Linked DNA regions of Homo sapiens: all the other regions are linked to region 5. The links are contacts of gene promoters, found by promoter capture Hi-C in blood cells and fetal thymus (Javierre and others, 2016). All regions are on one chromosome and are shown on one strand. Each heading gives the region's core, a stretch centred on a gene start or on the middle of the fragment in contact. The rest is flanking DNA. Distances are from core to core; before and after follow the strand shown. Region 1 holds the start of PF4 (platelet factor 4). Region 2 overlaps ANKRD17-DT (ANKRD17 divergent transcript). Region 3 overlaps LOC105377277 (a long non-coding RNA gene). Region 4 holds the start of CXCL5 (C-X-C motif chemokine ligand 5). Region 5 holds the start of RASSF6 (Ras association domain family member 6). Region 6 has its middle 30 kb from the start of CXCL3. Region 7 has its middle 47 kb from the start of PF4.

Region 1 (3,126 bases), core at 69-2,568, 360 kb after region 5:
GTAGAGCAGTGCCTTCCTGAGGGATGAATAAAAACATCATCTAGTACGTCTCCTTGTTTCCAGAATTTGTGGGCATAAAAACAGTCTTATTTATTTACTTAATTTTTTAAAAGCCATCTGTGTTACTGATATTTATTGGCAAAGGTAATAATAATGGTCAAGGTAAATATGTAGCTATAAAGTACTGCAATCATGTAAATGCATGAATATGTATCAGCCAACATGTAACACCAAGCATAACCAGTATTCACACCTTCCTTCAAAATACTTTTTGCTTAAAATACCGGAATTTTTTTCTTCCATGAAATTGTTATGTGTCAACACAATTTTTGCACTATTATTAAGAAGTATTTTGACTATACTACAACTTGATTTATTTTGTTTATTTAAAATCATAAGGATAACACAAATATCAGAAGTTCTTTCACAGTTAGATTGAAACTGGAAAAAAGAAGTATGCTATATAGCAAATGCACACACGTAGGCAGCTAGTAGCTAACTCTCCAAAAGTTTCTTAATTATTTTCTTGTACAGCGGGGCTTGCAGGTCCAAGCAAATTTTCCTTCCATTCTTCAGCGTGGCTCTGGCAGGGAAAAGAGAAGAGATGTGACTTTCAGTCCTTGGGTTTGCAAATGGCATTAGAAGGGGGAGGGTTGGGCAGAGGAGGCACGGAGCGGGAGCACTGACAGATGCAGTGCAAGGACTCACATCAGTTGGGCAGTGGGGCAGTGGGGTCCGGCCTTGATCACCTCCAGGCTGGTGATGTGCCTGGGACGGACCTGGGAGGTGGTCTTCACACACAGGCACTGCAGGTCCCCATCTTCTTCAGCTTCAGCTGAGGGGGAAATGGAGAGGGTAAGAGAGGAGGAGGGGAGGGAGTGGTGACTCCATGAGTAGCCAGAGGTACTTTAGGGACTTTTTCCACTACCTTCAGCCTTCTTTTCCTTACCATAAATCACACCTCCCCCAGACAGAAGTTGTTCTAACCAGGTGGGAGGTGCAGGTGCAGCGCCTGGCACTGTGGCCAGACACTCAGCAGGCTCTCCGTTAAGTGTGGCTGTGATCATGATCCTAGAGGATTCCTCCCCAGCCCCAGGGCTTCCCGGACTCCCCCTCGCCGCTGCCAGCCCTCACAGCCTGGCTTCTGCTCTCACCGCTGGCGAAGGCGACCACAAGTGGCAGGAGCAGCAACCCCAGGAACAGCAGCCCGGGGCGTGAGGCGCAGAACCCGGCTGCGGAGCTCATGCTGCGGCAGAGCTTCCAGCAGGATCTCAGTGCTCAGTGCGATGGGAAACTCGGGCTGGGTCTCTGTGGCCAATGACTCCTGAGCCTCGCCGGCACGTTTTATTCCCGGCTGTCCTTCCAGTCCGGAAGCCTGAAGTGGACACCGAGGAACTGCGGTGCGGAAACTAAGATAGTACTGGGAAGACTTGGGTTCTGGCCAGCCAAGATTACCAAAAAAAAAAAAAAAAAAAAAAAAAAAAAAAAAAAAAAAAAAAAAGAAAAGAAAAGAAAGAAAGAAAGAAAGAAAGAAAAGGCTCTGGGCAGCTGCCTTGGCTGGGACCTCCAACCTCAACTTACATACAAGCACGTTTGTAGAGTTAGAAACAGAACTTGAGTCAGAAAAGGAATGTTTTTTGTGTTGTATTAACAGTAGAGTTCTCTGCTGTCATCATGCAACTTACACAGTAGGTGCTTTCAGGACCCTGACAGTTCCTGTTTCCTTTCCAACCTCCCAGCTGCAACTACCAATTATTACTACTGAGTTTGGTGGCTTTGTGTGTGAAGCATGTGTTATTCGCAATTATTTTCTGCTACTAATAAGTTTAATTTGGTCTCTAGGCGATGACTCTTTTGAATTTCACCTGAATGTGGAAAACTTCCCTAGTCTCTGGATGGTATTTACCAGGCTCCACCAACAATCACCCAGTATGCTGTAGGACGCAAGGTCTATTTTCCCATTACTCGTACTCTTGGAAAAATTGCAGAAGTAATATTTGAATGCATTCTTTTTGTAAAAGCTTAGTGCCTGGCTGTTTCTTCATTGTTTCCATCCTGAATAACAGTCCAGAAGAGAGGACAAGAAGAGTTTGCCAGGCCATGTCTCCCAGTGCCTGCTGTGTCTTCAGCCAGTGCTAGTGACAGGGTGAGATGAGCTGCACTGTTGGTGGGGAGCAGTGATGCTCTCTGCAGGAGGATTCAAGGCATCTGGGAGTTGAATGTGAGAATGATGGGAGGTGACGGTGGAGGGGATGCAATAGAATCCCACATAGGAAAGGGGAAGAGATCCATATGGACAGTCTTCCCTTCTCTGAGAAAGAATGACTTTGGCTCTTGATTAGGGCAAGGTACACCCTTAACCCAAAGCCAGAGGTTCTCTATCACACTTATTAACAGTGGTAAAGGGTGTCAGGAGCCCACTGCATGGAAAGCTGATATTCTAATATGTGGTAGGACTGGACTTCTATAGAAATATGCAATTTAATTGTTGAGCTGAGTAATTTCTTCCTCCTACTCTCCCACTACCTGCCTTTTCACCTGACTAAGACTTATTTATACTTCCGGAGTCAGCTTAAGTGTCAGTTCCTCAGAGGGCCCTTCCCTGACAACTATATGTAATTGTGTTCTCTTGCCTTTCTATCTTGCAGAACTCTGTCTTTCCTGTTTCTCACAGGTAACACACACACACACACACACACACACATATATATATATTACACAGAGATACGTATGTGTGTGTGTGTATGTGTGTATTTCATAGTGTTAAAAATGGTTTTGTTTCCTAAACTGGAAAACACTATGAAATCAGAGATTATAACATTTATCACTGTTTCAGTGTACTGGTAGAGACTCAATTCAAAGTGCCACATTAGCGAAGATGATGTGTTGAAAATGATGATGATGAAGTTTTAACATATCCATGTATTTGCTCCTTCAAGCAATTGAAGTATACCTCTATATTAACATGTGTAATATATAGTTGCAATTATTTGCCTACTTATCTGCCTCTCCCACCACATAGTGATCTTTTCAAGTGCAATTCTCTGTGACTTACATACAGTAGTGCAGCACATAACATTTAGGTCAACAATAGACTGCATATATGACAATGGTCCCATAAGATTA
Region 2 (3,163 bases), core at 89-2,588, 300 kb before region 5:
ATGAACCACATGTTATCCATTAAAGTACCAAGTTAGTCATGCCTAGTAGCAGTCCACTATAAAAAGGAAGTAATATATGTGGAACTGAGCCGGAGAATATCTAGAGGCACAAGAAGGATACATGTGTTTATGATTCATATTCTGAGTGTGCTACTTCTGCTTCGTTGTCATTTTTCTCTCAACTTCATTTATGACCTCATGGCAAGTTACCTATGACCTAAATCTCTGACCTTGGTTAACAGATGAGTCAACATAATTTGCTGGCACTAGGTGAAAGTAGACTACCACCTCCCTACAAATCTAATCAGGGTTAGCTCTTAAGGACCATGAAAAATGAATTCCTCTTGATAGGTAGAATTTTGAGTATCCCAGGTAATTTTCCAGTTATGAAAACCATAGCCTGAATCAAGAATCTATGCCCATTTATGGTGACTGGCTAGTGGAACTAGAAGGAGGAAGATTAGAGTCTTAGAAACAAGGAGTTTGAAAAGTAAAATACAAGGATAGATGTCTTCCTATGGATCCAGAATATGAGAATATTGTCCCAAATGAAAGCGTGTCAAAAAGTCTTTACCATGGAAGAAGCTCTTAATAATCAAAGAGGCTGGCAGTTAGCCTCTATCTATGACCATACCATTGCTTTCTTAATAGGCTCATTAAAAAATACCAATCTTGCAGGGATGGAGGCCATGCATGGACTCAACAACATCAATTTTTACTCCTGAAGGCTTGCCAACAGCAGGAACTTATCCTCAATCTTTTATGTGACATCTCCATTCGTTTTCTATTGCTGCATAAAAATTATCACAAAATTAGCCATTGGTAACAAAACGCATTTATTACTTCACAGTTTCCACGTATCACAAGTCTGGACATGGCTTAGCTGAGTTCTTTGCACAGGTTCTCGGAAGACTGTAATCAAGGTGCTGGCCATACTGGCATTCTTGTCTGGAGGCTTCATTAGGGGAGAGTCCAATTCTAAGTTAATTCATAGTTTTTGGCTATATGATTGAAGGCCCTGACTTTTTGCTAGCTTTTGTCTGGAGGCTGCCCACAGCCCCTTGACACATAGTCTTTTAGTACATGGCCACTTACTTCATCAAACATACAAGCCAAGCTGGCTTTATGGGCACACATCCTATGCTGTCACATATCCCTGTGCTTAGAAGGCCCCACACTTGGTTTAAGGCTCTTTTGTAGCTGTTTTGAAATTCTTAGTAATTTTTGAAAAAAGGAGCCCCAGGTTTTGCTTTTGCAGTGGGCCCCACAAATTATGTAGCTAGTGCAATCTGCAAGGAGAGTTTCTAGCTCCAGTCTGCTAAGATGGAGACTTTGGTAACATAATCTAATCACAAGAATTACATCCATCATCTTTGCCATATAATGTAATCATAAGAGTGATATCACCTTTGCTACTGTCTACTGGTTAGAAGCACGTCATAGGTCCCTACCATACTCAAGGGAAGGGGACTATAGGAGGACGTAAATACGAGGAGGTGAGAATTGCAAGGGCCACTCGTAGGTCTTTCTGCCACAGTACCATAAACTGGACTAGGGCAAGTAGAGAGCAGGTACCTAGAAAGGATTTCAGCTGGATTTCTCTGCCTGCCATGCTTTTGTTTGCAGCACTATTTCTTGGAATTTTTGAGTGTCTTATTCACAGTCATTGCATCCCACACAGCATTGTCTCCAAGGAATTATTTTACAGTTTACAATTTATCCCTTACCACCTGCTTTATAGATTGTCGAAATGTCGTACTGAAGACTAGCACCTATAGTGCCAGGCAGGAAAGCAATTTCTTGGGAGGTCAGGATGTTGTCTTGCATAAAGTATTATATGCTCTGAACTGGTAATCAGTACATGGGCTGTTTTCCTCATAAACAGAATGTGTAGATTTGGGAAGCAATGACTATAAGTGGTGGCTCATAAAATTACACCAAATGCCTACTTATACATTTTTTTGCATCATGTCTTCAGAACATGAGTTTTTACTGGTTCAGAGATCTTAATGTCTAAGAGATATTACTTAATATCTAAAAGAGATTTCCTGTAACCACCAAGAGACACAAGCAAAGTTCAACTGTATCGACAGTGGCCACTGCCAACTGGCTGTTTTGAATAATTGATGCCACTGGACAAACCAGACCAAAAGGGAATTCAGGTGTTGGCAGAGGTGATTGATTCTATTCATGAAGAGCAATAGGTGTATTGCTACACAGTGAGGGCAAAGAAAAATATGGATAAAATCCTTCATTATTTATAGTATTTATAATTCTTATTTATTTTCCTTTTCAGATTTTATTATCTGAGAGCACTAGTACATTACTGAAAAGCGATGTCTATAATGGACATCTGTGTATTATGACTCTAAAGAGAGTATTTCTAGCATTTTATCATTACATAAGATGTTTGTGAGGTTTAAAAAGATGACAGTTAAGTCCATTTCCTTCTTTTTCTTTCTTTTTTTTTAAAAAGAAAAAAACTTCAACTTTTGTCTCAGGATCTATACGCCCATTTTCTTCTATTCTTGGTATGCTTTACAAAAAAAAAACTCATGAATGTATGTTGCATTTTTTTCTTATGCATTTTTCATTAACTAAACTAATTATGTTGCTCATTTAATTTATAAATGTGGTGAATCACATCAATTGGTTTTCTGTGTTTCAGACATTTTGGAGTTTCTGAAATAAAACCCACTTGATCCCTTCTATGTTCATCTCCTGCGCTGGATTTGATTCATTAATATTTTATTTCAGTTTTTAAATCTGTATCTATAAATGACATTCACACACCATTTTTCATTCTTGTATTATCCTTTTATTATCCTTATCTTGTATTATCCTTGGTTTCAATTTTAAGGTAAATTGGGTAGTATGTTAGTCAGGGTTCAGTTTAAGATAACAGATTCCATCCTGAAAAAAAAAGGATTTATCCTGTGAGGTGCTAAATGGATTACTTACAGACATGTTTTGAGAACTGAAGAAAGAGACTTATTTGCATTTCCAGGAACTGTGACTAAATCCGTATAGCAGAACTGAGCCCCCAGGGAAGATACTGCCAGTGTTATAATCAAGAATTTGAAACATTATGAAGATGCCATATCTTCCACGATCAGGAAGCCACTGAATCAGGAACTTATGCTGTCTCCAAATCAGGATACAG
Region 3 (3,166 bases), core at 535-3,034, 500 kb after region 5:
CAACTGTGACCCTAGTGACTAGTAACAGTAACAAATGAAAGAAGATGCTCTTGTATGGCCAAAACGATGAAACAGACCTACATGATTTTATGAAAAGTTTTCCTTGGCTTTGGTTCAAAGAGATTTTTCTTTCCTTGACACTAAAGTGGTAGTTTGCACTAGGCATATAGATACCGTTCTATCTTTCTGGTTCTCCACTTAAATGACACTCATGTCTGCTACATTAAAATTAGCTTGTTAGGTTTTATTTCACCAAGTTTATAAAGTAAACCACATATCGTTTTCTCTTTTGTAGATGCTGAAAGCAAAGTTCATGTGGGAAATGTTTGGCAATAGCTGATTTATCCTCAGGGTAACAATATTCTATAACTCCTTTGATCTTGAGGCCTCTGTGATGGAAATGCTTGGAGAAAGGGATTTTAAAGGGAGATTCTGAAGTCCTTGGGAAAGTCCACAAGTGGACGGGGCTTCATAGCCATGACAACAAATGACATTGTCTAGGAAACAGTGAGTCATGGCATGCTGAGCTTAGAATGGAGCCAACAGAAGGAACCTGGCCTCGGACACAGAATCTTTTGGCTGCTGACCCAGAATGACTGTGAAAGACTAACACTGTTTAGCAGATTTTTCTTGAGTGTTTACTATGTGTGAGGTTCCTGGGATTCAGATTCAGCTACTATTGTTAAGAGGAAATCAACCAGGAAGTCAGTTAAGAAAAGGTACAGTGGGTTTTCAGGCTGCAGGGTACAGAAATGTTCCCAGGCCTGGAGAACAAACCTTCAGATCTTAATCTGTACAGGGAGGTGGAGGGTGAAAGAATGATCTTTCAGGAAGCGTTCAAGTAGGGCTGCTGCTTGGATTGAATTTTAAAGAATGCATAGGTTATATGCAGGATCTATATATAGATCAATAGCTTCCCTGAGCACATGTTCAAAGGTTCAAACATTTGGGGTCATTTCTTTGCAAGAAGAGTCACTCAGTGGCCTGAAAGTCCATGCAGCAACTTCCCTCATGAGAGCTGCTTCCGCAGCAGGCCCAGGGTTTCTAAAGGAGAGAGCACACAGATGTAAACACTCTGTGGTTCTGAGGACTGTCACCTCTTCTTTTCACCCATCACTTTTGTCTTAAGAACTCTATGCTCAACCCTAATTCTCAGTCTCTATATCAATTCCCACCAAACAGATGCAAAGTCCTGTCCATTTGCTTCCATGAACTCTGTACTTATCGATGATATAATACTCTGCTGACTACATTTTACTTGCCACTTCATATCCTCACTAGACTGAAAGACCTATAAGGGAAGAGATATCTTATTTATATATCTTTCTTATATATCTTTCCCATATATCCTATTTACTGTTGTACTTACAACTCCTACAACCGTGCTTGGTACATAGGGTGTTGAAAAAGTATTTATGAAATTATGAATAACACTGATTCTATTAAATAACATTATTAAGTTAATGAACAAATAATTAAGCTTAGTAAAATATCAAAAGTTAAAGATATCAAAAACTAAACACTTATAGAATAAAAGTTTGCTTTTCTTGTCTAGTGAGCACATTAATACAGATTTTAACCCTCTTTTGTCCTCTCCTGATTCACACGAAAAAATACATAGGCCTCAGCTGTTCATTGGTGCCAGATAAAAATAAAGTACTTTTTAATTGTAATTACTGCAAAGGCTCTTCAACAGTGCACAGTATACCAGGAACTGAAACTTTTCTTATAAAACAAAATAAATATCAGTAGAAACAGAGCAAAGGCATTTCATTAAGTATTATGGACTGAATTGCATTCCCTGTAAATGTGTTAAAGTCTGAACTCTCAGTACACCTCAGAATATAACTGTATTTAGAAATAGGGCCTTTAAAGAGGTAGTTAAGATTAAATGAGATCATGTGGATTGGTCTTAATCTAAGATGACTGGTGTCATTATAAGAAGAGGAGAAGACACCAGAGATGCAACCACACAGAGAAAAGGTCATGTGAGCAGGGATCCCCAAACCCTGAGCCAAGAACTGACAGTGGTCCATGGCTTGTTAGGAACCATGCCACACAGCAGGAGGTGAGCCAAAGGCAAGGGAGCAAAGCTTCATCTGTATTTATAGCCGCTCCCCATTGCTCACATTACCTCCTGAGCTCTGCCTCCTGTCGGATCAGTGGTGGCATTAGATTCTCATAGGAGTGCACACCCTATTGTGAACTGCGCATGAGAGGGATCTAGATTGCATGCTCCTTATAAAGTCTAATGCCTGATGATCTGAGGTGGAGCTGAGGTGGTGATGCTAGCTCTGAGGAGTGGTTGCAAACACAGATTAACATTAGCAGAGAGGTTTGACTGCCCAGAGACCATAATAAATCAGTTGCCTGCAGACGCATATCAAAACCCTGTCAGTGAGTGGCAGGTGATAATTCAGCTGCATCTGGTGGCTGGCTTTATAGTGGCAAGTGCGTTGATGTACTTCAACTGTACAGCTGCATCTGGTTGCTGGCTTTATAGTGGCAAGTGAGTTGATGTACTTCAACTGTACAGCTGCATCTGGTGGCAGGCTTTAAGTCAGAATCTGACACTTATTTTAGTCCATGTGTGTCCTGCCCATTATTTTATTTGTCACTTCCATCCGCACCTCTTTCCTGCACTGCACACTTGTCTCAATCAGTTTTGGTAAGCCCACAAGCTAACCCTAGCCAAAATGAATAAAAACAATCATCACTGGAGAGTTTCTTTGAAAAGTGGGAAAGAACCAATGATGAGACAGCAGAAGACTCTAAGACTGCCAACAAAAAGAAAGCTGCATTTAAAAGAAAATACTGGCCGGGCGCGGTGGCTCATGCCTGTAATCCCAGGACTTTGGGAGGCCGAGGCGGGCGGATCACGAGGTCAGGAGATTGAGACCATCCTGGCTAACAAGGTGAAACCCCGTCTCTACTAAAAATACAAAAAATTAGCCGGGCATGGTGGCGGGTGTCTGTAGTCCCAGCTACTCAGGAGGCTGAAGCAGGAGAATGGCGTGAACCTGAGAGGCAGAGCTTCCAGTGAGCCGAGATCGTGCCACTGCACTCCAGCCTGGGTGACAGAGCGAGACTCCATCTCAAAAAAAAACAAAAAAAACAAAATACCATGAGTCCTACTTAAATTACAGGGTCATTGCACCAGATAATT
Region 4 (3,423 bases), core at 625-3,124, 380 kb after region 5:
TAACCGGTTTCATTACCGCATCTTCCCCCACCCCCAACCCCAGTGTGTCCCACCAGGACTAGAACAGGCTTTACATTCAGACAGAAATGCTTCAAAATCCCAGTGAAATGAACTGTGCTAAAAACCCGACAGGCATCTTCCCTGCCCTCCCCGCTCCCGCTCGTCTTCTGCAATCCTCTAACCCAGGTTCTACTCTGTGAAAGGGGCCAAAGCTGTGAGTGGGGAGGGAACTTGCCCCAGCGTGGCCACCTTATATATAATTATATATTCTACCATAAATGCTGGCCTTCTTCAAATTATGATTTTGGAAAATCTAACCCATACAGAGGGATAAAAAATTGACATCCCTTGGACAACTTCTCCTTGTTTTTTTTTGTTTTGTTTTGTTTTTAACATTCCAAGCTCTCTCTGGTCCCCTATCCAAGGAGAAATGCTAGGGCCTCGAGGATGTCGCTATATATTTTTATAACTAAATGATAAATTTATATTCAAATTGTTTGAATACGTTTCCAAAACTTTCAGAGTACAAGTCATTGTTAAGTTTGCCTTTACTTTAAAAACTAAAAGAATACATTTCTATATAAACTAGCAGTCAGGAATTTGCCTGTTTTCTAGCTTCTTCATCTATCTAAAATATATATTTAGCTACCAGAATTATGGTACTCCTAATAAAATACTTAATAAATAGCATATAAAATCAAAGTTTAAAAGTAAATGATGGCAGTTTGCCATACTAAAAAGATAAAGAATGTCTAAAATTATAGGAAGATAAGATATTAGCCCTCATAGAACTTAAACTTTTAGAAATTCTGAATAAGGAAATATATTCTACATAGATAAGGTGTGAAACACTCAGCTTTCTAAAGTGAAATAATTAAATAGTATCCCACAATCAAGAGTAAGGAAATTCTCTAACATATTCCCCAAGAAACATTAAAATATTTCCTATTTCTTATAAAAGTGAAGATAACAGTGTATTTCCATCAACAGAATTCTTATGAAACATCATTTCCACATTAAATCCACAGCCTTCTCAGTTAATATCTTAAGGAATATTTCTTGGAAATATAATAGTCACCTACAATTCAAGACACTTTGAAAGATTAACAGCCAGTGATTCCTGGCTCACACTATAGTCAATTGCCAAAACTTCAATAGCATAGCAGATAAAATAACAGCAAATAGCAGAGGTACTATGCTAAACACTTCATTAGCTGAGCTGAAAGCTTAAGCGGCAAACATAGGTTTTCCTCACACTCTTCAAAGTGAGGAATCCAGGAAGAAAGCTAACTACTGGAAAAACAAATAAACAAACAACAACAAAATCTTTCCTTCTTGTCTTCCCTGGGTTCAGAGACCTCCAGAAAACTTCTCTGCTGAAGACTGGGAAACTTTTCCATGCGTGCTCATTTCTCTTAATCAGTTTTCCTTGTTTCCACTGTTGAGAAAAATGTTATATTAGTTTAACCATTTTTCACACTCCTTTCTACTCCACCCTTGTCAAAACTCAGCGTTTATGATGTTTGGTAAAAAAGGAGAATACAAAAATCAATAAAAGCAATGGGTAAACAAAAAACATAACTTAGTGACAAGCTGTGTGTAATTGCTCAAGTAATTACATGTAAGATTGGTATATTTTCCCAGGACAATCCAGAAAAACTTTCCCAATTCAACAACCTTTTAATTCTAAACATGAAAAGTGTTACTTAAATCGTACAGAGAATAAAGACCTTGTGAAGTCTATGGTCTCCCTAGATCAGATTTAGAAACCACAAAGATCAAAGTGACAAGTACCCGTCCAAAATTTTCTGGATGACTTTCTTTAGAAAAGGGGCTTCTGGATCAAGACAAATTTCCTTCCCGTTCTTCAGGGAGGCTCTGAAGGAAAGAAAAAGAAGATACACTCATGAGATACCAAGGTTGAAGACCCAGGCTGCGGGATTTCTCTCTTGCCAAGGTCACAGCGGACACAGCAGCACAGAACTTACACCACTTCCACCTTGGAGCACTGTGGGCCTATGGCGAACACTTGCAGATTACTGATCATTTTGGGATGAACTCCTTGCGTGGTCTGTAAACAAACGCAACGCAGCTCTCTCAACACAGCAGCGGCAGGACCAGCTGGGGAAGAAAGAGAGACACCCTTTATAGGGCAGGTTGCTGGGAGAGTTCCCTGGAACGCAGCGACCCCGCAGAGGCTGGGATGCACCTCTGTGCCCGAGTGCGAGTGCGTCCCGCGCGCCATGCGCTCTCACCGCTGGCGATGGGCCCTGGCTGCGTCAGCAGCAGCAGCAGCACCAACAGCGCGCACAAGGAGCTCGAAGGACCGGGGACACGGGCCGCGCGGCTGGACAGGAGGCTCATAGTGGTCAAGAGAGCGCTGCGAGCGGTCGCGGGTTCCTGAACTGGGTGGAGGAGCGGAGATTGGAGGAGCGAAGATTGGAGGATCCGGAGCACTGTGGCTTCCTCGTGCCTTCTGCACTCCTTTTATCTACACTCATCTCTCCCCACTGACAGGAAACTCAAGCTTTGGGATGCTGGGGAAATTCCCTGAACTCATGGGGCAGTGTGGAAAGAAGAGGTTGGGGGAGGGGGGCCAGACAATGGGAACTGGTGGGGAGGGTGGCCAGGAGGAGCTGCGTGCACCTCTACCGAGAGGGACGTTGTAACCCTGCTCCGCGGTGGAGGGAGCTGTGGCTCCAGCTAGAAGGGAGTAGCTATTCAGCAGGATTCAGCAGGGCCTCATGGCCTGTGCCAGAGCGGGCTAGGGATGCCGGCTTTTCTGAGGCACGCAGCCCTCTGGGAGATGCTCCTCCTCTCCTTCTAGAGAGAAAAGGTGGAACCAAAGTAACAGGAGCCTTGATTTGAGAAAAATTTCTGAAAGTCAATCCTTTCTAATTATTATTACTATTAATCAGGAAATGTTATTCATGTTTGAATTGCTATAAACTGAAAGTCCTTCCTGTCTTCCTTGCAGGCAGGTCATTCTAGGTTTCTTGAATGACTTTATGAATCTCTGGACTTCAACCAGCTTTGGAAGCCAAGATAACATGATAACAAGAGACCCTTGTCTCTTGCCACTTGAAGTCAGTGGCCTGAAAGGACCACTGAATTTTGTTAACTCCCCTACAGATCACCTACTTTGGTAAGTCCGCTTACTGAGAATTCTGTACTTGTAGTATATAGCAAGTATACGTGTGTCCAGGTAGTTAAACAAAAATCTTCCAAAATCACCCAGCAAATTGCCATGGAAGATACCTTGCTATTGGCAGTTGCTATGCTATTGAATTGGAAGAGGTTTTGGTCTTGTTGGGGGTGAGGTGTAGTATGGTGAGCGCAGGCTAAAGCTTGCCAGGGATCCCAGGCCTGCCCCAGCTCTGTTCCCAGCCCCAGATATGTATTTGACACCATTTGGAGATGCTG
Region 5 (3,179 bases), core at 365-2,864:
TAACAAGATAAAAATGAAGTCAATGGAAATTACTAGTCATAGACACTAAGTTGGTCCCCTCAAGAAAATTAGCAACATTAATAACTAACAACATTGACAAAAGTGCCCTTTAAGTGAAACTTCATAAAATAAAGCCACTTTCCTGTAATTTAAGCTTAAGAGGTAGAGACTGACAAAATACAAGTATTATTCCTTCATGTCTCTTGTCCATCAACACAAATTAAAAACAGCACTTCAATACAAACAATTCAATATGTGCTGAAATATAAAGACATGGATTATATGGTCTAAATTGATGAAAGTTATTCAAAAGCAGTCTCCTTTATAAAACCCAAATGGCATGAATTCCACAATATGAGATTGTGTGTAACTCTCTTACTCTAAAATTCTATTTTCTTTTTAGGAATAACAGATTAATGTAAATGTGAATTTTTCAAAAGAAAACTGATTGAGTAGCAAATATGTCTGAATTTGCCACCACATACTCTATCTGAAAAATGGAAAGAAGCCAGGTCATTTCGTTGCTACCCAGAGAGATGATCCTAGCACACCTGTCACCTGCTTGCCTGTCCTGGATCCAGTCTCCGGGAACCAGTTCAATTCCAGCATCCTAATACACACTGTCTGGTCTCCCTAGTTCAGCTTGCCCTCCCTGATAACGGCCCCTTTGGCAGAGCAGCTTATTCTTAATGCTAACAGTAGGTATCACTTACAGAACACTTGCTGACTGTTCAGTTCCCATCAAAGAAAGCCTTATGTGGCAGATCCTTTGATGATGCTTGTTTTACAGACAAACGTTTGGGGCTTAGGTTAAGAAACTTGAGAGGGGGCAAACTAATAAGTGGCAAAGCCGAGCTTTGAACCTACCACTCTTCTGCTTCAGAATTCATATCCTTAACTCATGCACTCCCATTTAATTATTTATGTTTATTATTTCATTGTTTGGTGAGCGCTTATATTGAAAATTCATTTTTTTTTTGGTGGGGGGCATGCTTTCTGTCACTTTGCAGAAACAAATAAAAGTTGAGCTGAACCCTCAATTAAGTTCTTTCCAGTGCGATGATTCAACACAATATTCTAACCATAAGGATACTCAGAGGAAGGAGTATGCCATCCAGAAGTCTAGTATCTTTGTAAGGCACGATTTTTGCCAGGCACAATTACAGGTGAAGGGCTCATTGAACTAAAGGGAGGAGGGGTCCTATGGTCACATTTACCTCCAAGCCCTTCTCTGCACCCTTTCCCTCCCTTCTTTCCCCTCTCTCCCTCCCACCCTACAAGCTTACCTTGGTTAGGAAAGCATATTCTGAGAAAATCAAAAGGAAAAGGCATGTGTGCGATTCAGGCTGCTATGACACACACACACTTAACTTTGTTGCCTATGGATTCTGCTTTCTAATAACTTGCCCTCAACATGACCCCAGGGAGTGGATTAGAAAGTTTTTTTCCCCATCCCCATTTTTTACCTGTTATTCACACTGTGAGCAGGAGGACCCTTTTCACCATCGTTGTTCGGCTGAACTTGCTTCGCGGTTTGTTCTCGGCTGGGTCAGGAACTCTGGTAGAGGGAAACCAGTGCCCTGTCTCTGCCGGGCTGGGACTCCGCGAGTCACTCACCTGTAGGGGAGGTCCGAGGCCCGCGCGGGCGCAGGGGCGGCGCCTGTCTCCTCCCAGAGCATGGCTCAGCTGGGCGCTTGCAGTGCCCCCGACGCGATCAGCGATCCTGGAGCCCCAGGAGCTGTTAATTATTTCTCCTTTTCGCCACAGCAGGGAAGTGTCAAGAAACCTGAGCCACTCCCTGTGCCTCAGTGCATGTTGGGAGTGTTTACTTTCTTAGGAACAGCTGATAGGTACACTCCTTTGCTCTCTGCCACACTTCTTGAGAAATGAATGGACATTCTAGTTAACGCTTTAACCACGGGATTTGACTGATGTTAATCTCTATTCTCTAGTCCACCCAGACTGTAGGTAATTGGCCTGTGAGAAATGACACCAACCAAGACTGAACGCCATTATTCACGTCTTTCTTTTTAAGATTTTTCTTTTCCAATTTGAGATTTGTTAACTTTCTTTTCCTTGTTATTTTGCTAACACATTTCCCTGCTAGCACTTTTTTTCACCCAGAGCAGCGTTTCGCGCTTCAGGGTGCACCAGGACCACCTATGTATTCTGCTAAACCCAGGTACCATCAACTGTGAGACTCTGATTTAGTAGGCCATGCATACACTTCGGGTATTTATATTTTTTATAAGCTCCACAGAAGAAACTGGTAGACATCAAAGTTTGAAAATGAACATAATGAAACAAAACAGAGGAGATAAATAATAATTTAGTCATTATCTACTGAATTGGATTTGGGGGCTTTGTTTTATCCAATATCTCCAATTTCAAAAGGACACCAAAAAGGCTTAGAAACTGTTAAATGACAGATGCTGTGGAAATATGAAGTACATTTACACACACACACACACACACACACACACAGATTTTTAAGGATCATTGTTATTTTACTGGTTTCCTATGTAAAGCAACTATTCATAATTTTTAAACATAATAGGTTATTTTACAAGTGTAAACCTGAGAGCCCTCAAAAGAAATTCAATCTGATTCCTGCAAAAAGTTCAGCAGGCAGAGTTAATTTCTAGTATCTTTCGTGTTCAAACGCCAGACAAACAGAATGACTCTAGATGTTCAGGTTGCATGTTTGTCATAGCACTTTAAGTAAGATCCTATATGTTCAAAAGGTGAGGCAGGCCAGGTGCAGTGACTCACGCCTGTAATCTCAGCACTTTGGGAGACCAAGGCTGGTGGATCACTTGAGCCCAGGAGTTCAAGACCAGCCTGGACAACATGGCAAAACCCTGTCTCTGCAAAAAAAAAAAAAAAAATTAGCCCGGCATTGTGGGGCATGCCTATAGTCCCAGCTACTCGGGAGGCTGAGGTGGGAGGATCACTTGAGCCTGGGAAGTCGAGGCTGCAGAGAGCCAAGATTGCACCACTGCACTCCAGCCTGATTCAAAAAAAAAAAAGAAAAAATATTAGGCAGTTTATCTATTTAATCTGTGGTGTGCGGAGACCAGGAACTATCAGATTTATCATTATTTGAGCAAATGGTTTTATTGGATCACAATCAAAGATTTTACAATCTTATGTAAGGACAGATGTGACTTAGTATTACT
Region 6 (3,493 bases), core at 93-2,592, 450 kb after region 5:
ATTGGAAAAGGACAGAGGTTTCACCATCTATAACGATTTCATTCTGAACAGGGACTGTCACGCCTATCTGCTCTGGAGATACAGAAATCTCTCACTACCTGATGTAATAATTTATAGAGACTTGGTCTTTCCCACAGTGGCACAGGCTAGAACCCTTGGGAAAATACCCTTGGGCATATTTTTCTGGAAGAGTTTTAGTCAGGAAAACATAAACTTTAACTATTTGAACCCCCTTGAACATAACAAATAATTATTTAACAGGAAAATCCAATAACACCTAGTGATAATTAAATGTTTAAGTCCAGTTGAACAATGCTTATAAGAAGTGTAGATGCCATTTGGAATCTAGTAAATAGACTGGAAAACCAGTCTTCTGATATATGAAATACAAAGCAAAACAGATTTTCAATAAAAGACATTTTTATGAGAACAGAAGAAAAACAAAGATTCATGGTGACACAATCTATCCATATGTTAGTCTCAAAACATCTTTAGTTATAGAGGCGGAAGGTGGTGGCAGTCTGACACATTTTTCTCACCTGTCTCACAAGGAATAAGCTTTAGCTTACAGAGCCTCAAGAAAAGATAGTAATAATTTTATTTAGTTTAGTTGGAAAAAGAGAAGATAAATTTGAAGACATTAGTTTGGGGACTTGTCAGTTTAAATTGCATAAAAAATGATAAAATCTCACAAACAACAAACAAGACTAGAATCTAACAACAGGTGTATTCTAGTTTTTTGGAAATATAATTGTTCTCTCTTTAGACTCCCATTTTTACCAAACACAAATCATGGCAGGACTGATTTGTTTGCAAAATAAGTTTTAGTTTTATTGTTATACTTGGCCTGATTATTTGTATAAAGTGCAAGAAGAATAATTATTTGCCATGTAGGCTTTGTTTGATTTGGCTTTGATGAAACTTTGTTCTATAAGGAATCCCATATTAGACATTTTAAAGCCCTGAGTCCAGCCACAGATTTACCTGTGCCTTCAAATAATTGTATTTGTAAGAGTTGGGTGAATTCCTCTCTTCTTGAGGTCACAGAATGACTTGAGGTTTCTGGGCCTGTCAGAATGAGATATTTTTTATTTACCACAAATCAGGAACCCATACAGTAACTGCATAGACAAGGTATGAGGCCAGCTTCCCAAGGGGCTTTTATAGTTTATGTAAGTCAACTTTGATTCCTTAAAGCAGTGTATTCATATTTGAAAGCATGCCATTCCAGTCAACACCTTAAGTAAAATAACCAGTGTCTCCAACTGTGTCCTGCTACAAAAGAAACAGATTCTTATTGCACTTATACAGATAAATATATTGCCGTAAGTTAAGAATACTCACAAATCGTTTCCAAATTCTGGAGAAATCAGGTAGGGAAAAAGAAATGTGCTCCAAAGTTTGCTCAGAGGAGTATACACCTTACTTAATTGCTAAAAGCTATGAATAGGTCAAAAGAAAAATGTTCTTGACTCTGAAAAATAAAGCAGAAAGGCTCATCAATGTTTAAAGCAATAAAATTATTAAAAGATTATTTTGGTCTTTTATCAGTTTTGTCCATGCTATTAACTCTTGTTTTGCCTGATATTGGACCAACAGTCCTTATGGATATATTAGCTTTCTGTGAGAGTCCTGGAAGGTTTTATTCCTCTCTACTTTAATGGAACACTGTCCAAAGTTATCACTGACCTTCACTTAAGAGTACTCATCAGAATCCTATAGCTGATTACCAACCACCTTTTGAAGAGGATCAAAACAAGACAAAAATTGTCTGTGGATGAAAAAAGTCTTAGGACATCCACAGTTAAAGACACAATTGACAAGGAAATATGATTTACTCTGTGGCACACAATAATTGTATATAGTATTTATAATTATTACTGATAATGTACACTAAGTTATATCGGAATTATTGGAGTTTTGCATAATTTTAGAACACATACCAGTAACACATTTAGACAAATACAGCCTAAAGGAAGCCAAATATCATTCTATATCTGGCAATGCTTCCTGTATGATGTTAATATACCAAATAAGCCAAATATGCCATTTTTGGACTTTAGGGGACCTGATATCTAAAATGATTAATCAGGTCAGAAAAAGATTTAATGTAGTATTTGATTTTGCAAAGCTTGTCAAACATCAATGGCTTAAGATACTTGATATTATAAAATAGGACTCCAGGACATCGTAAGTCATTTATTTAGCCATAATGATAACTCAGATATTTGAAAAAGGCAAAAAGCTTTACTCCTTGATAAAGAGGATACTTACTTTCCAAAGTCTGTGTCTCTTTTCTCTCCCTTATTTTTTATATAATTATTCAAAAGGCAAACAAAAATATTTCATTGTCTCTCATTATTCAAAAATCTTGTTCAAAAAGGAAAATTGAATTTCACTTTTGCATTAGTTCATCATTAATGCTAAAGCTAAGTTTTAATAAAACCCTTATCAACTTATCTATTACCCAATTTTCATTTGTTTGACCATAAGGTAAGATTTCCATAAACCTTTTGTAATCTTTTATAATTTTGTATGAAACAGCAGATCAACGTTTCAAAAAACCCTGTTATTCTGACACAGGGGCCAATATTCTTATCCTGCATCAGGGTGCTTTTATTTTAATATTCAGTTTATGGAAAAAATAAATAATACTCATAATTTTGGTCAACTTACTTACACACAGAATTCTTTACAAGGTTAATGTTTCACAAACCTTCTACAACTTGCTTAAACCTTCAGTTTTATCCTATTTCTTAAATCCTCTAAATTAGACTAAATGACTTTCTTTTTTAAAAAAACACATTCTCATGCCTTTCTACCAAGAACATATAATTTTTATTTTTTAATGTTGCCGAGACCAGCTCACCTGGAGAGACCCTAACCCAGTGGTGCTAGAGGAATGAAAGACACATATACAGAAATATAGAGGTATGGAGTGGGAAATCAGGGATCTCACAGCCTTCAGAGCTGAGAGCCTCAAACAGAGATTAACCCACGTATTTATTGACAGCAAGCCAGTGATAAACATTGTTTCTATAGATTATAGATTAACTAAAAGTATTCCTTATGGGAAACAAAGGGATGGGCTGAAATAAAGGGATGGTTTTGGCTAGTTATCTGCAGCAGGAGCATGTCCTTAAGGCACAGATCGCTCATGCTATTGTTTGTGGTTTAAGAATGACTTTAAGTGGTTGTCTGCCCTGGGTGGGCCAGGTGTTCCTTGCCCTCATTCCAGTAAACCCACAACCTTCCAGCATGGGCGTCATGGCCATCACGGACATGTCACAGTGCTGCAGAGATTTTGTTTATGGCCAGTTTTGGGGCCAGTTTATGGCCAGATTTTGAGGGCCTATTCCCAACATAATGTAATCAATTTTAATTGTGGACCAGGTGCAGAGCCTAGGATACAGGACAGAGCTGCAAAGTCATGCTCTTTCCAGCATAGCTAGGTGTCATGGGAAATTCTGTATGTCCCCAGGCCTTATCTACA
Region 7 (3,176 bases), core at 509-3,008, 310 kb after region 5:
TATATAAAATAATATAAATATTAACCTAAAATAAATATTATACTTAGTGGTAAATGTTTGGACAGTTTCTTAAGAACAAAACAAGAGTGTCTGCTATCAACACTTCCCTTCAAACATGTACTAAAAATTTTAATCAGTACAGTGAGGCTAGAAAAATATATAAAAATTGATAATAGGTGAAAACAAAAAACTGCCATTAGTAGTAGATTGCATAATTGTCTATGTAGAAAATGCAAAATAATTTACACTACTAGAATACTGATGAGTATAAAAATTAGATACAAAAACCAGAAAACACAGTCTTCAAGACACTATTTACAATAGTGGCCAAATACAAAAGTCTCTAGAAACAAGATAAACAATGTACAAGGAGAAACATTTTTTAATATTAAAGACCTTAATTTATGGGCTATACCATAAAATGTTAATATCTTAAACTTGCATCAACTGTCTCTCCCAAAACTGATCTATAAAGTCAATAAAGTTGAATTCAAAAGTTACATATTGACAAAGTAATTCTAAGGTGTATATCAAAGAACTGAGAAGAGATCAGTGACTCCTAAAGAAGAAAAACAATTTTGGGAGACTTGCCTTTTCAGTTATCAAGAAATTTTATAATAATATAGTGATTAGGATAGTATAGCACTCATGTAGATATGACATACTGACCAATGAGAAAAAAACAAAGTCTAGAAACAAACTACACATATAAGAAATCTTGATTTATGACAGAGATTGAAAAATGATTAACATTTCAACACATGATACTGCACCAATTTGTAATCATATAAAAAATAAAATTAAACTTCTACCTCACATTATAGAGAAAAATCAATTCTGAGTAGATTAAAGTTCTAAGTAAGAAAGACAAATCTACTTAATTTTTAGAAGACAATGTAGAATATTTTATGATTCTGAGAAAAGATCAGCCGTAAGAGAAAAAATTATATTATAGAAAATTCACTTTAAAACACACTGCAGAGATAACTTTGTGCCACATATGTAAGTGACAAATGATTACCATCCAAAATTTTTTAAAGCTTTTATGAAAAGGCTAATAGCACAACAGAACAAGTGGACAAAAGAAACAGAAGTTTCACAGAGGACCAACTACAAATGGTTCATAAATGTGAAAAGATATTCACCTTCATTTATAATAAGGAAAAAAGCAAATTAAAATCACTATATGATACCATTATAGAGTCATTTAGCAACAATTTCAGAAGTCTGAAAATTTCAAGGGATGGCCAGTGAGTGGAGGAAAGAAACTTTCATGAATTGCTAGTGGGTGTGGTAAATGAGTACAATCATTTTAAAAATAATTTTTTATGATTTGGTAAAGTTGAATATATGCATGCCATATGAGCCAGTAATTCCACTCCTACATATATATCCTAAAGTATCTCTAGGACTTATATACCCAGGGCTCAGCACAAAAAATGTTGAGAGCTATGTTACTAGTATTAGCAAAACTGTAAGCAACTCAAATTTCCACACAGCAGTGGACCAGATAAGTATTTGTGTTGCCACAAAATGTAATAGCAGTCATTGACTGAAATAAATCATCCTATATGAAATTCACAAACAAGTTCCTAAATGACAAAATTAGGTCATATCTGTGTAGCATCAGCTCATTTTTCCAAAGTTCAAAACAAATAAAATTAATAATCAATTGTTTAGGATTTTACTTATAGATGTTAAGCACTACAATAAGTGGGAATGACTGACACTGAGTTCAAGTTAAGGGTTAAGGTGCAAGGAGTGTGACAGGAAAGGAGAAAGATGAGATTTGGAATGGGTACAGAGAGTACTTCCAGTATCCTGCTAATGTTCATATCTTAAACATGGAAATGGGCATAGTGGTTTATTTTGTTACTCTTCCTAAACCTTTGTCTGTGTGTATATATGTATATAGGCACACATGCAAATAGTATACATATGCATATACATGTTTTATACAATCTTTAATATTAAATATTATTTATATAAAACATCTATTCATGTTTTTATATAGTATATGTTTCTATACAATCTTATACATCTATGACATATTGTGCAACTTAAAAAACTTTTTAAACCTGCTACATTATATTGCAACTTTTGAATGTTCTTTGTCCAAGTATATAAAAGACTTCCCAATAATCTAGCATTATCAAAGTATTTTTAATGCTAGTATGTGTCATTGCTTATTATAGATGTTCATTGACTTCAAAAATCAATCTACACATTTCAGTTTATGCCTTACTCATGCTCCAATGTCAGATACTTTTTTTTGAAGAAGAAGAAGTTACTAGAATAGAATCTTGAAGATAGTGATTTTTTTCCTTCACCATGTAAGAATAATGCCCAAACCCTTGTCTCCTATATTGTTAGTCTGGTAAATTTTGCAAGAACTTCATCTCTGAAAACTACTACTAGAGACTATTACTTTCCCCTCATAATTCCTACTTACATTATTTCTTTTCAGCTACAGCAAGAAGCTTCAAGTATCAACTGGACATTTTTAATGAGTATAGAAAAAAATTTAAAAAATCATATTCCAAATATATTGATATTGCAACTCTTAGCTCTCAGAAGCATCAGCTATGTGAGGTAAGTACAGAAAAATCTGAATGAAGATAAAGACAGCCATATTGCCTAACCCTTAATTTACTATTTCAAATCAATGTAGCTGGCCACAATATTGGATTAAGAATTCAACATTAATAGAAATAGTCATGGAGAAATCACAGAATACCAATTATTTGCCAATATCATAATCAATATGAATTTATTGAGCTGCTACTATGAAATAGTGTTAGGCATAAAAGAGCAAATATCCACTCCTTAAGGTTGTAATTGTAATCAAAACCATAACTACATAAGTATAAAAGAACTGCTTGAGTCCAGCGAAAATTTATCGGTATAATTTGATGTAAGATTTCAGTTGAATGTAATAATTCCATCTGCTAACTAATATTAAAATAAACACCCTAGATTGACTTGAAATAATATTACTACCATCATCTCCCCTTTACCCTTCAGAAAGAGAAGTACAGACCCTTTAATCAGAATTTCAAGTTAAATAAATTTGTTCTGCCTCTATCTGGGCTTCTTTGACACTTGACAAACTGCATGCATGTCCTAGTTTAATTTTAGATATTTCACAGCTTTTGTTTTGCTTAAAGCCAAAAAAC

The links. Contacts are between HindIII fragments. The CHiCAGO score rates a contact against its expected background, and 5 or more counts as called.
Region 1: the fragment with the promoter of PF4 here is called in contact with the fragment with the promoter of RASSF6 in region 5 in 6 of 17 cell types (neutrophils, endothelial precursors, M2 macrophages and 3 more); the score reaches 14.6 in neutrophils.
Region 2: a fragment that was not itself captured here is called in contact with the fragment with the promoter of RASSF6 in region 5 in 1 of 17 cell types (megakaryocytes); the score reaches 6.5 in megakaryocytes.
Region 3: a contact is called between a fragment that was not itself captured here and the fragment with the promoter of RASSF6 in region 5, in 4 of 17 cell types (fetal thymus, neutrophils, monocytes and 1 more). The highest score is 11.8, in fetal thymus.
Region 4: a contact is called between a fragment that was not itself captured here and the fragment with the promoter of RASSF6 in region 5, in 1 of 17 cell types (monocytes). The highest score is 5.0, in monocytes.
Region 6: a contact is called between a fragment that was not itself captured here and the fragment with the promoter of RASSF6 in region 5, in 1 of 17 cell types (neutrophils). The highest score is 6.1, in neutrophils.
Region 7: a contact is called between a fragment that was not itself captured here and the fragment with the promoter of RASSF6 in region 5, in 1 of 17 cell types (endothelial precursors). The highest score is 5.7, in endothelial precursors.

The regions. Positions count from the first base shown.
Region 1 is chr4:73,980,709-73,983,834 of GRCh38, forward strand. PF4 (platelet factor 4) reads right to left here and starts at 1,319. Exons shown (of 3, transcript NM_002619.4): 1 at 1,155-1,319; 2 at 709-835; 3 at 103-583. The coding sequence starts at 1,245. The coding sequence ends at 496. RefSeq lists an enhancer at 271-1,012. The HindIII fragment of the contact is 10,026 bases long and covers 1-2,019 here.
Region 2 is chr4:73,315,159-73,318,321 of GRCh38, forward strand. The region is part of intron 3 of ANKRD17-DT (ANKRD17 divergent transcript); the gene reads left to right. Among named protein-coding and RNA genes, the nearest start is that of ANKRD17-DT, 58 kb to the left of the region's middle. The HindIII fragment of the contact is 4,979 bases long and covers 1-3,163 here.
Region 3 is chr4:74,116,686-74,119,851 of GRCh38, forward strand. The region is part of intron 1 of LOC105377277 (a long non-coding RNA gene); the gene reads right to left. It also overlaps a transcript of MTHFD2L not described here. Among named protein-coding and RNA genes, the nearest start is that of CXCL2, 19 kb to the left of the region's middle. The HindIII fragment of the contact is 613 bases long and covers 1,479-2,091 here.
Region 4 is chr4:73,996,218-73,999,640 of GRCh38, forward strand. It overlaps CXCL5 (C-X-C motif chemokine ligand 5), which reads right to left and starts at 2,460. Exons shown (of 4, transcript NM_002994.5): 1 at 2,256-2,460; 2 at 1,989-2,121; 3 at 1,795-1,878; 4 at 1-1,438. The coding sequence starts at 2,364. The coding sequence ends at 1,420. LOC124900715 (a long non-coding RNA gene) reads left to right here and starts at 2,011. Exons shown (of 2, transcript XR_007058140.1): 1 at 2,011-3,145. The HindIII fragment of the contact is 1,301 bases long and covers 1,225-2,525 here.
Region 5 is chr4:73,618,822-73,622,000 of GRCh38, forward strand. RASSF6 (Ras association domain family member 6) reads right to left here and starts at 1,615. Exons shown (of 11, transcript NM_177532.5): 1 at 1,467-1,615. RefSeq lists enhancers at 1,089-1,638, 1,639-2,187. The HindIII fragment of the contact is 3,198 bases long and covers 1,280-3,179 here.
Region 6 is chr4:74,066,697-74,070,189 of GRCh38, forward strand. No RefSeq gene overlaps it. Among named protein-coding and RNA genes, the nearest start is that of CXCL3, 30 kb to the left of the region's middle. The HindIII fragment of the contact is 1,573 bases long and covers 557-2,129 here.
Region 7 is chr4:73,933,627-73,936,802 of GRCh38, forward strand. No RefSeq gene overlaps it. Among named protein-coding and RNA genes, the nearest start is that of PF4, 47 kb to the right of the region's middle. The HindIII fragment of the contact is 1,440 bases long and covers 1,039-2,478 here.